Regions from separate parts of the Homo sapiens genome. Here all the other regions are linked to region 1. Evidence: promoter capture Hi-C in 16 types of primary human blood cells and fetal thymus (Javierre and others, 2016). All regions are on one chromosome and are shown on one strand. The core of a region is centred on a gene start or on the middle of the fragment in contact, and the rest is flanking DNA. Distances in the headings are between cores, read along the strand shown. Region 1 holds the start of RNF115 (ring finger protein 115). Region 2 overlaps ITGA10 (integrin subunit alpha 10). Region 3 overlaps RNF115 (ring finger protein 115).

What was found. The method cuts DNA at HindIII sites, captures the fragments that hold promoters and counts their contacts. A CHiCAGO score of 5 or more calls a contact.
Region 2: a contact is called between a fragment that was not itself captured here and the fragment with the promoter of RNF115 in region 1, in 1 of 17 cell types (erythroblasts). The highest score is 5.1, in erythroblasts.
Region 3: a fragment that was not itself captured here is called in contact with the fragment with the promoter of RNF115 in region 1 in 1 of 17 cell types (endothelial precursors); the score reaches 5.5 in endothelial precursors.

What each region holds. Positions count from the first base shown.
Region 1 is chr1:145,822,833-145,825,532 of GRCh38, forward strand. RNF115 (ring finger protein 115) reads right to left here and starts at 1,263. Exons shown (of 9, transcript NM_014455.4): 1 at 940-1,263. The coding sequence starts at 1,041. POLR3C (RNA polymerase III subunit C) reads left to right here and starts at 1,368. Exons shown (of 15, transcript NM_006468.8): 1 at 1,368-1,537. RefSeq lists an enhancer at 1,229-1,628. The HindIII fragment of the contact is 15,759 bases long and covers 1-2,700 here.
Region 2 is chr1:145,891,219-145,893,918 of GRCh38, forward strand. ITGA10 (integrin subunit alpha 10) reads right to left here. Exons shown (of 30, transcript NM_003637.5): 28 at 2,322-2,417; 29 at 1,943-2,056; 30 at 1-1,645. The coding sequence ends at 1,580. Among named protein-coding and RNA genes, the nearest start is that of ANKRD35-DT, 6.4 kb to the left of the region's middle. The HindIII fragment of the contact is 8,055 bases long and covers 1-2,700 here.
Region 3 is chr1:145,752,374-145,755,073 of GRCh38, forward strand. RNF115 (ring finger protein 115) reads right to left here. Exons shown (of 9, transcript NM_014455.4): 5 at 605-676. Among named protein-coding and RNA genes, the nearest start is that of CD160, 34 kb to the left of the region's middle. The HindIII fragment of the contact is 5,705 bases long and covers 1-2,700 here.

The DNA of each region.
Region 1 (2,700 bases), core at 13-2,512:
TCCTCCTGCCTCGTCCTCCCAAAGCACTGGGATTACAGACCTAAGCCACCGCGCCTGACCTACAAAAGTGTTTTCTTCCCAACCACAGCACTGCCTCTCAAGGGGCTAACACTCTGGCAGAAACTCGTGAAAACCAATTTCACGTCAGAGGAAGCATCCCCAACATTCTGTCCCGGCTCTTTTTCTTAGGTGAAGAAAGGGACAGGGCGGGGGGCGGAACAATGATATTAAAGACACTGGCAGCATGACAACCAAAATAAACGAAGTTGAAACAGTACGTCCTGCCTTCTTCCTAAAGCCATTTCCTTCAACAGTGATAGGAGTGCAGACCGTCTGCAAGTCATTAGTACGCTGCTGTCTTCACTGTCACAAGGACCCTGGAAACCACTGAAGAGCAAAATCCCCCTTTTCGCCCCACAGATACCTTCCAACCCCCTTTCTGTGCTTCCTTCCCTAGAAAAAACCGAAGAGTGACAATCCTCAGCAATCCGCTATTTCGCTTCACTGACAAGGGAGGTGGCGGGGGCGGTGGGGGGTGAAAAGTGGAAAAGAACACAGAGGAAGGTGAGAAGACACAGTGGAAGAAGTGTGGGGGGAGGTCATCGTAGGAAAAAGACCAGGTATAAAAGAATGCAAGAAAATTGAGGGGAGAGTTATCAGAGGGAAACTTGCTAAGAAAAAAAAAAATTAAGGACACGGGAGGTAAAGAGGTGAGGTCAGGTGGAGCAGCCCAGGATGAATTAAGAGGTGGGCAGGAGGTACGGGGCCGAGGCCGTGATGCCCAGGGTTTAGGGCCGGCGGCTTAGAAGTGGGCAGCAGGTATTCGGCAGACCGATGTCGGGCGAGTCAATGATGTGCAGAAAGCTCCAGACCCAGTTCCGGGAAATCGGGGCCAGGAATCTATGAGGTTCCCAAGTATAGAGAACACAGCGCTCTTACCGGTAGTTTGGGGCTGACCTCGCCCTTGCAAAAGTGGCAGAAAAACCGGTGGGCGGCTACAGCGGCGCCCGAGTCCGCCCCGGCCGCCGAAGCCTCCGCCATTTTTGCCCTCCGCCGCGGCCGTCCGAGAGGGCAGCCGGCCCGTCCCTCGCCAGGCCGCTACCTCCCGAGCTGCAGTCGTCGCCGCCGCCGCCGCCTCGGTGCGGCCCACCGCTTCAGAGCCCGCGTCGGTCACGTGAGTTGGCCAGGCCCAGAAACGCGGCGGCGCCAACAGCTACCCTGCGGCCCGCCTCCCAGCACCAAAGAGGCGCAGGAAGGAGAGACAAACGGCCCGCCCGCCGGCTCCACAAACAGCCCCTCGCTGGTCCTCCAGTCTTCCAGCGAGAAGAAAGAAAGAGCGTCCCCGGAAGCCGCCGAAACTCTGGGGTAGAGTGGCACGCGCTTTTTGCTTTTCCGCGTCTTCTTCGGTGGCGATCCGCGTCCTAGAAAGGGCGGTGGGCTCCACCTCGGCCTAGAAGGCCAGCGGGAGCCGTAGGAAGCCGTCGCGGGAAGCTCAGCCGAATTGGAGTTGGAGCCCCCGGATTGCGCTGACCCTGAGGTTAGTGGAAAATGCTGTCTGAACGTGGCGGCACTGACTGGACCAAGAGACCACGTCCGAAACGGGAACCTGTGTAAAGGAAGTGTAGAGCTAGGAGCCAAGCGCCTTGGAAGCCCTTTCCGAGGATGGCAAAGGATCTGGGAATGCTTCTCCAAAGATATGTGGATGGACGAAATAGGTCTCTGGTGATACTGAGGCGGGGTGGGGACGGGGAGGCAAAGACTTGGCTTCTTAGGAATTGGAAGAAATAAGTAAACAATGTTTGGTAGCAATTTGTAATAAGGAAGTAATCATAAAATTAACTACGTCCGTTTCTGATTGTGTCAACTTTGTCAAGGAGTAGAAGTTTAAGAATTGAATACTGTCCTGCAAACAACGTAACCTCATCTCCTGTTTGACACACCCTGTTGAGAAGCAGTCCTTTACCTCCTAAATTTCTTTTTCGAAATTATCATTTCCTTTATGGACTGAGAATAACACTGCCTGTTCACTCCCACCGAGCTGTGAACAGTGACCTTAATTCTTCCAAGCAGTGAAGTGTAGAAACTAAGGTCTGTGACAGACCGCAAAATCATCTCCCAATCTTTAAGGAAAATCAGAATCACGCATAATCCCATAGAGATAAATTTGATGCATAGTCTTTTCCTATGCATACATTTTTCCTTTTTTTTTACAATAATTGAATTTTTATATTTTTTCAGCTTGCTTCTGTCACTTAATATATTATGAGTAATTTTTTTTGTTTTTTTTTGTTTTGGAGACAGAATCTCGCACTGTCGCCCGGGTTGGAGTGCAGTGGCGCGATCTCGGCTCACTGCAACCTCTGCCTCCCGGCTTCAAGCGATTCTCCTGTCTCAGCCTCCCTAGTAGCTGGGATTACAGGCACCCGCCACCACGCCCAGCTAATTTTTTTGTGTGTTTTTAGTAGAGAAGGGGTTTCACTATATTGGCCAGGCTGGTCTCAAACTCCTGACCTCATGATACGCCCACCTCGGTCTCCCAAAGTGCTAGGATTACAGGCCTGAGCCACCGCGCCAGCCTATTATGAATAATTTTCTACATGAATACGCATCGTACTAAATAACTTTAAATGTTGGTGTAGTATGCCATTGTATGGGTATGGCATCATTTATTGTTAGACGTTAGATTGTTTCCACTAAGTC
Region 2 (2,700 bases), core at 27-2,526, 68 kb after region 1:
TGAACTTTATTTGTTCTGACCATCTGATATACTGTCCACCCCACTGGGAAACAGAGACAATGCCCATGAGGGTGGGCCTCTGCAGAAGGCCAGAGACATGCCAAAATAAATACTGTGGTCAGGCCTCAGGAACAGCCTGGGAGGACAGGTTCTGTGACTGCTAGTCAACCACCCAATCAGGTCTTCTCTCTTCTCAGCTCTTAATGAGTGCTGATTCTTCAAAAGGCTCCCAGAGCTGCACTCTGGAGACCAATAACTGACTTCGATATCTCAAGTCTTGATTACAAAGAAATATAAGTTACCCAGTTGTCTATGAGAATCCAACTGCCTTTACTGTCCATGACCCAAATATGGAGTGGGTTGGGGAGGGATCAGAGATAGAAATTAACCTGGAGATTTCCAGTAAGCATCAAGCAAGGGCTGGCAAACTGATTCCACCAGAGAAACCCTGCAAAATATGACCAGGGTTCTAGGGTTGCCCCAGAAACATTTTCCTAGGAGCTATTTGTGCTACATAACCAGTGCTGAGCAAGTAAGGGCTTGCTCCCCAGAGCCCCATGCCACCCATGTAGGTTTCTTAATGCAGACTCCACACTTTTAGATCCCATGGGGCTGCTGCTTCCCAAAGCTGGTAAAGTGAAAGCATTTCCCATCATCAAGTAGCAGTACTCTCTCTCCTGTCTGCTTTCTAAGCAGGCCCCAAGGAGGGCTCAAGAGTGAGTATAAGACTTGAGAGAAGTAGAGAAAATACTGCCTAGGTACACCCAGTCCTCCCTGCTATTCCAGCTCCAGCCACCTGAGGGCTCCTGGCTTCAGAAAATCAGGCACCAGGCCCTGGCTTTGCTCCCAGAAAAGGCTTGGAATCAGGAAGCCTATGCCCAGCGAGCCTGGGGGCAGCTCTGTTTCACCAACACCTGAGGGCGGTCGAGTGCACTACAGGTCTCAGGTTTCAGGGGGGATGGCAGTTGCCTGTCTAAAGGCTTCTCTGTTCCTTGGAATTGTACAGAATGTCTCTTGTGGCTTTTCCTCCTCCCTCCTTTTTTCCTGTTGACTCTCCCCATCCGGCTCTATGAATCACCAGAGTCCACAGGAAAGCAGCAGATGTTGACTTTACTCCTTTCAAGCCAACGTCAGCTCCCTCCTGTGGAGTGGGGAACAGGCAGGAAAGTGAGAGGGTGGAAGAATCGAGGAAGATAACCCTCATCCTTTCCAAACTGTGAGGGAAGATAAAGAGGGAATCTGAAAGGAGTCAGGCACCTAGGCAAAAAAATTATTGATTCCTGGGGATAAAAGGACCCCAAACAAAAGCCCCAGTGTTGGCTATGGAACCAGGATCACGAGGAGGAGGGAAGCAGAGGGTGGGAGCATGGCTAGTTTTGGTGCCAGCTCTTCTTGTCTGAGGTAAAGCCTCATCTCTAGCCAGCAGCATCCCTAGGACTCAAAAGTCAAGTCAGGCTGCTGGTCTGGGGAGATAGTCCAGAGGCGGCTTCTTGTCCCATCTGAGCCCCCAAACCTCTGCTTTTATGCAAGTCTCTTGAAGAAGCTGCCAGGGAGGACTTTCTAGACCCTTATTCTACATTCATTGCTCCAACTTCTCTTCTCTTTTTTCTTCCTCAGGGATTTTCTTATGGGCAAAGAAGCCAAGCTGTAGAAGAAAAGATAAGCGTCACTGCCAAATGCCTAGACTGGGAACCTTGCCAGTAGCTCTCAGACTTATCTGAGGTCTTCACTTTTGTTCTGTTTCCAAAAATGGAATTCAAATTTATTTTATTTGGCTTAGAATAATTTAACCAACATTTGTGGGGTACAGTGAAGGAGATCTGGGCATGACATCCACAGCCTGGTTAGCTGCCCAGCACAAATCCTGTTCTCTCTGCTATAATCAAGGATCCCTCAACTCATGGGCATCATGCTCCACACTCCCCACTAAAGCAGTGCTTACCTTCCACAGGCAGAAGACAAGGAGAGCAAGCAGGAGCAACCCTCCCAGGACACTGCCTATGAGGATCCACAGGGAGATGAGGATAGGCCGGGTCTGAACCACCTCCAAGAGGCTCTGCGTGGACAGAAGAGTAGTTTTCTACATGCATCCTATAACCCAGCTAGCCTCACCCCACATTATATCAAAGCCAGCCCCCAAATAGAATAAATAACCTCCTGCTACTTAAAGGAAAGAAACTGAGGCAGGAATGGCGGCAGTGGAACACTAGGATCCTGCTGCCTGATGGAGATGCCTTCGTTCTGAAAAAGCCCACGGGTGGCCCTACCACATACCCATCATCATTATTTTCACAGCTCTCAGACTCGGTCTCCAGCCCTACCTCACTCCAACGGGAGGCTTCAGTCAGCTGTAGGACACTGCCCTCTTCGGTTCCCAGCTCAAAGGTGCTGACCACCGTCAGGGACTTGAACTTGGCCTATGGAACAAGTGGATAGGAAGACATTTAAAATGAGCCATTATCAGGTGATATAGTTCTTTGGAATCCCAACAGCAAAGTTGAGGCTGAGAGGCATAATGTTGAGGGCTCTCAAGACCAGAAGAAAAGGCTGAAGACCAATGGGAAAAGAGAGGAAGGGTAATAGATGGAAAACCCCTGGTCACATCTGCTGCTGCTGTTTGTTTTCCAAGGACAATCAATACATCTGGTGCTTTACCTGAAATGCATTCTACTCCTCTTTCCTTTGGCTGACCTCTACCCC
Region 3 (2,700 bases), core at 69-2,568, 70 kb before region 1:
GGGACCATCTCATTCTCTACCTCAATACAACTCTCAGACCTGAATATAAAAGGAATCAAGACATTTCTAGCACCCAAACATCCTGGGGGACCAGGACGGCCTTCCTGAGCCTGAATAATAATAAAAAAAAAAGTTCTGATTAAGTTTGGGCTTAGCAGATAATGGCAGTGTAGCAGCCTCCAGTTACATCTACATACTCACCTATGCAGCTCTTTTTTTTTTTTTTTTTTTTTGAGACAGGGTCTCTTTCTGTCGCCCAAGCTGGAGTACAGTGGCGCGATCTCGGCTCACTGCAACCTCCACCTCCCGGGTTCAAGTGATTCTCCTGCCTCAGCCTCCGAGTAGCTGGGACTACAGAAGCATGCCACCACGCCTGGCTAATTTTTTATATTTTTAGTAGAGACGGGGTTTCACCATGTTAGCCAGGATGGCCTCGATCTCCTGACCTCGTGATCCGCCAGCCTCGGCCTCCCAAAGTGCTGGGATTAGAGGCATGAGCCACCGCACCCGGCCTATGCAGCTCTTTTTCTCTACTGCACAGAAATGACAGCACCTAAAATATGTCACTCCAATAGAGTAAGATAGAAAACAATTAGTTACTTACCAGGAAAAAGGGTGTGGAGATCCAGGAATGGCAGAATTTGCAAAGAATCCTGCAAAGATGTGTTGTAGTATTCTGTTACAGAAGAAAAAATTAGATAAGACAACAGACTAATGAAAAGTACTCTACAGATATCCATGGCTGCCTAATCACCAACTAATTCCCTAAACCAAAATGGCTTTTCATTGGCTAGTACACAAGAGACAGCATCAGAAATCAGCCTGCCACACAGCGGTGTGCTATTTTGCTATTATGGCTATCTTCCTGAGCTCTGCTATCTTACAGATTAATAGATTTTTGTGAATTAAGCTGGAAAGGGATCTGATGGTATGGTATAGTTTTTCAAACTATGTTCCCTGAATATCTGACATCAACATAAGGAAGGGTTAAAAGGGATGCCGAGCCAGTGGAACTCTGGACCCACCTCCCTTTAACAAGGGTAGTTCCATTTTTGTATGTTGTACACATTGGGTTTCTGAATAAGATATCATTTAAAGAGTCCTTTAAAAAAAAGTTTAAGCAATAATTCTATGTTAAGGTTGTTTCAGATGATTATAACACAAACACATATAAACACACACATGCTTAGCATTTGTCACTCTGAATACTTAAGATGGCACAGGTACACAGTTCTTTACACGAATGAGTCTTTGTTACCCAAAGAGATACTGGAGTGATGCCTCAGCAAAAGAAAAACCTGAAGAAATTGTTTCACTGGATCTTCTGTGTTCTGGATGATATGCAATTTTTTTTCTTTTTTGAGACAGAGTCTCGCTCTGCCGCCCAGGCTGGAGTGCAGTGGAGCGATCTCGGCTCACTGCAACCTCTGCCTCCCAGGTTCAGGCAATTCTCCTGCCTTAGCCTCCCGAGTAGCTGGGATTATAGGCACCTGCCACCACACCCGGCTAATTTTTTGTATACTTAGTAGATTTAGTAGAGATGGGGTTTCACCATGTTGACAAAGCTGATCTTGACCTCCTGACCTCAGCCTCCCAAAGTGCTGGGATTACAGGTGTGAGCCACCACGCCCAGCAATGATATGCAATTTTAAGTCCCTGGTTCCCACTTTACTTATTAGGCCAATTAATATAACAATGGCAATAGCCAACATTAGACTTTCCCTGCTACTAAAGTTCAACAGCAGCTAACTACACTATTCCGTTTGTTTGCTTGCTTTTTTGTATTATTTTTCATTATTTATTTTTAACTGACAAAAATTGCATATATTATGGTATATAACATATTTTGAAATATGTATGCATTGTGGAATGACTACATCAAACTATCAACATATGCATTACCTCACAAACTTATTTGCAACAATAACCCTTAAAATCTACTCTCTCAGCAATTTTCAGATGTACAAAACACTGGTTGTTTTTTTTTTTTCTTTTTTTGAGATGAAGTCTTGCTCTGTCACCTAGGATGGAGTGCAGAGGCACCATCTCAGCTCACTGCAACCTCCATATCCCAGGTTCAAGCAATTCTTGTGCTTCAGCCTCCCAAGTAGCTGGGATTACAGATGCACACCACCACGCCTGGCTAATTTTTGTATTTTTAGTAGAGATGGGGTTTCACCATGTTGGCCGGGCTGTCAAGTAATCCGCCCGCCTTGGCCTCCCAAAGTGCTGGGATTATAGGCATGAGCCACCCCACCTGGCTGAAAACATTGTTATTAACTACTGTCACCCACGTTGTACAACAGATCTCTTGAACTTTTAACTAAAATTTTGTATCCTTCAACATCTCTCTAATCCACCCCCTCTGCCCCACAGCTCCTAGTAACTACCATTCTATTCTCTGCTTCTATGAATTCATTGTGTTTTCTTTTTTTTAGAATGCTTCGTGTTGTTTTAAAAATATGTCCAAAAATTATTTGATAATCTTCCCTTCAGTGTGGGCTGGACTTAGTGACTCACTTAACAATAGAATATGGCAGAATTGATAATCTGTGACTTCCAAGACAAGGTAAAAAAAAGTGGGGGAAATGGCCGGGTGTGGTGGCTCTTGCCTATAATCCCAGAACTTTGGGAGGCTGAGGTGGGTGGATCACTTGAGGTCAGGAGTTCGAGACCAGCCTGGCCAACATGACCCCATCT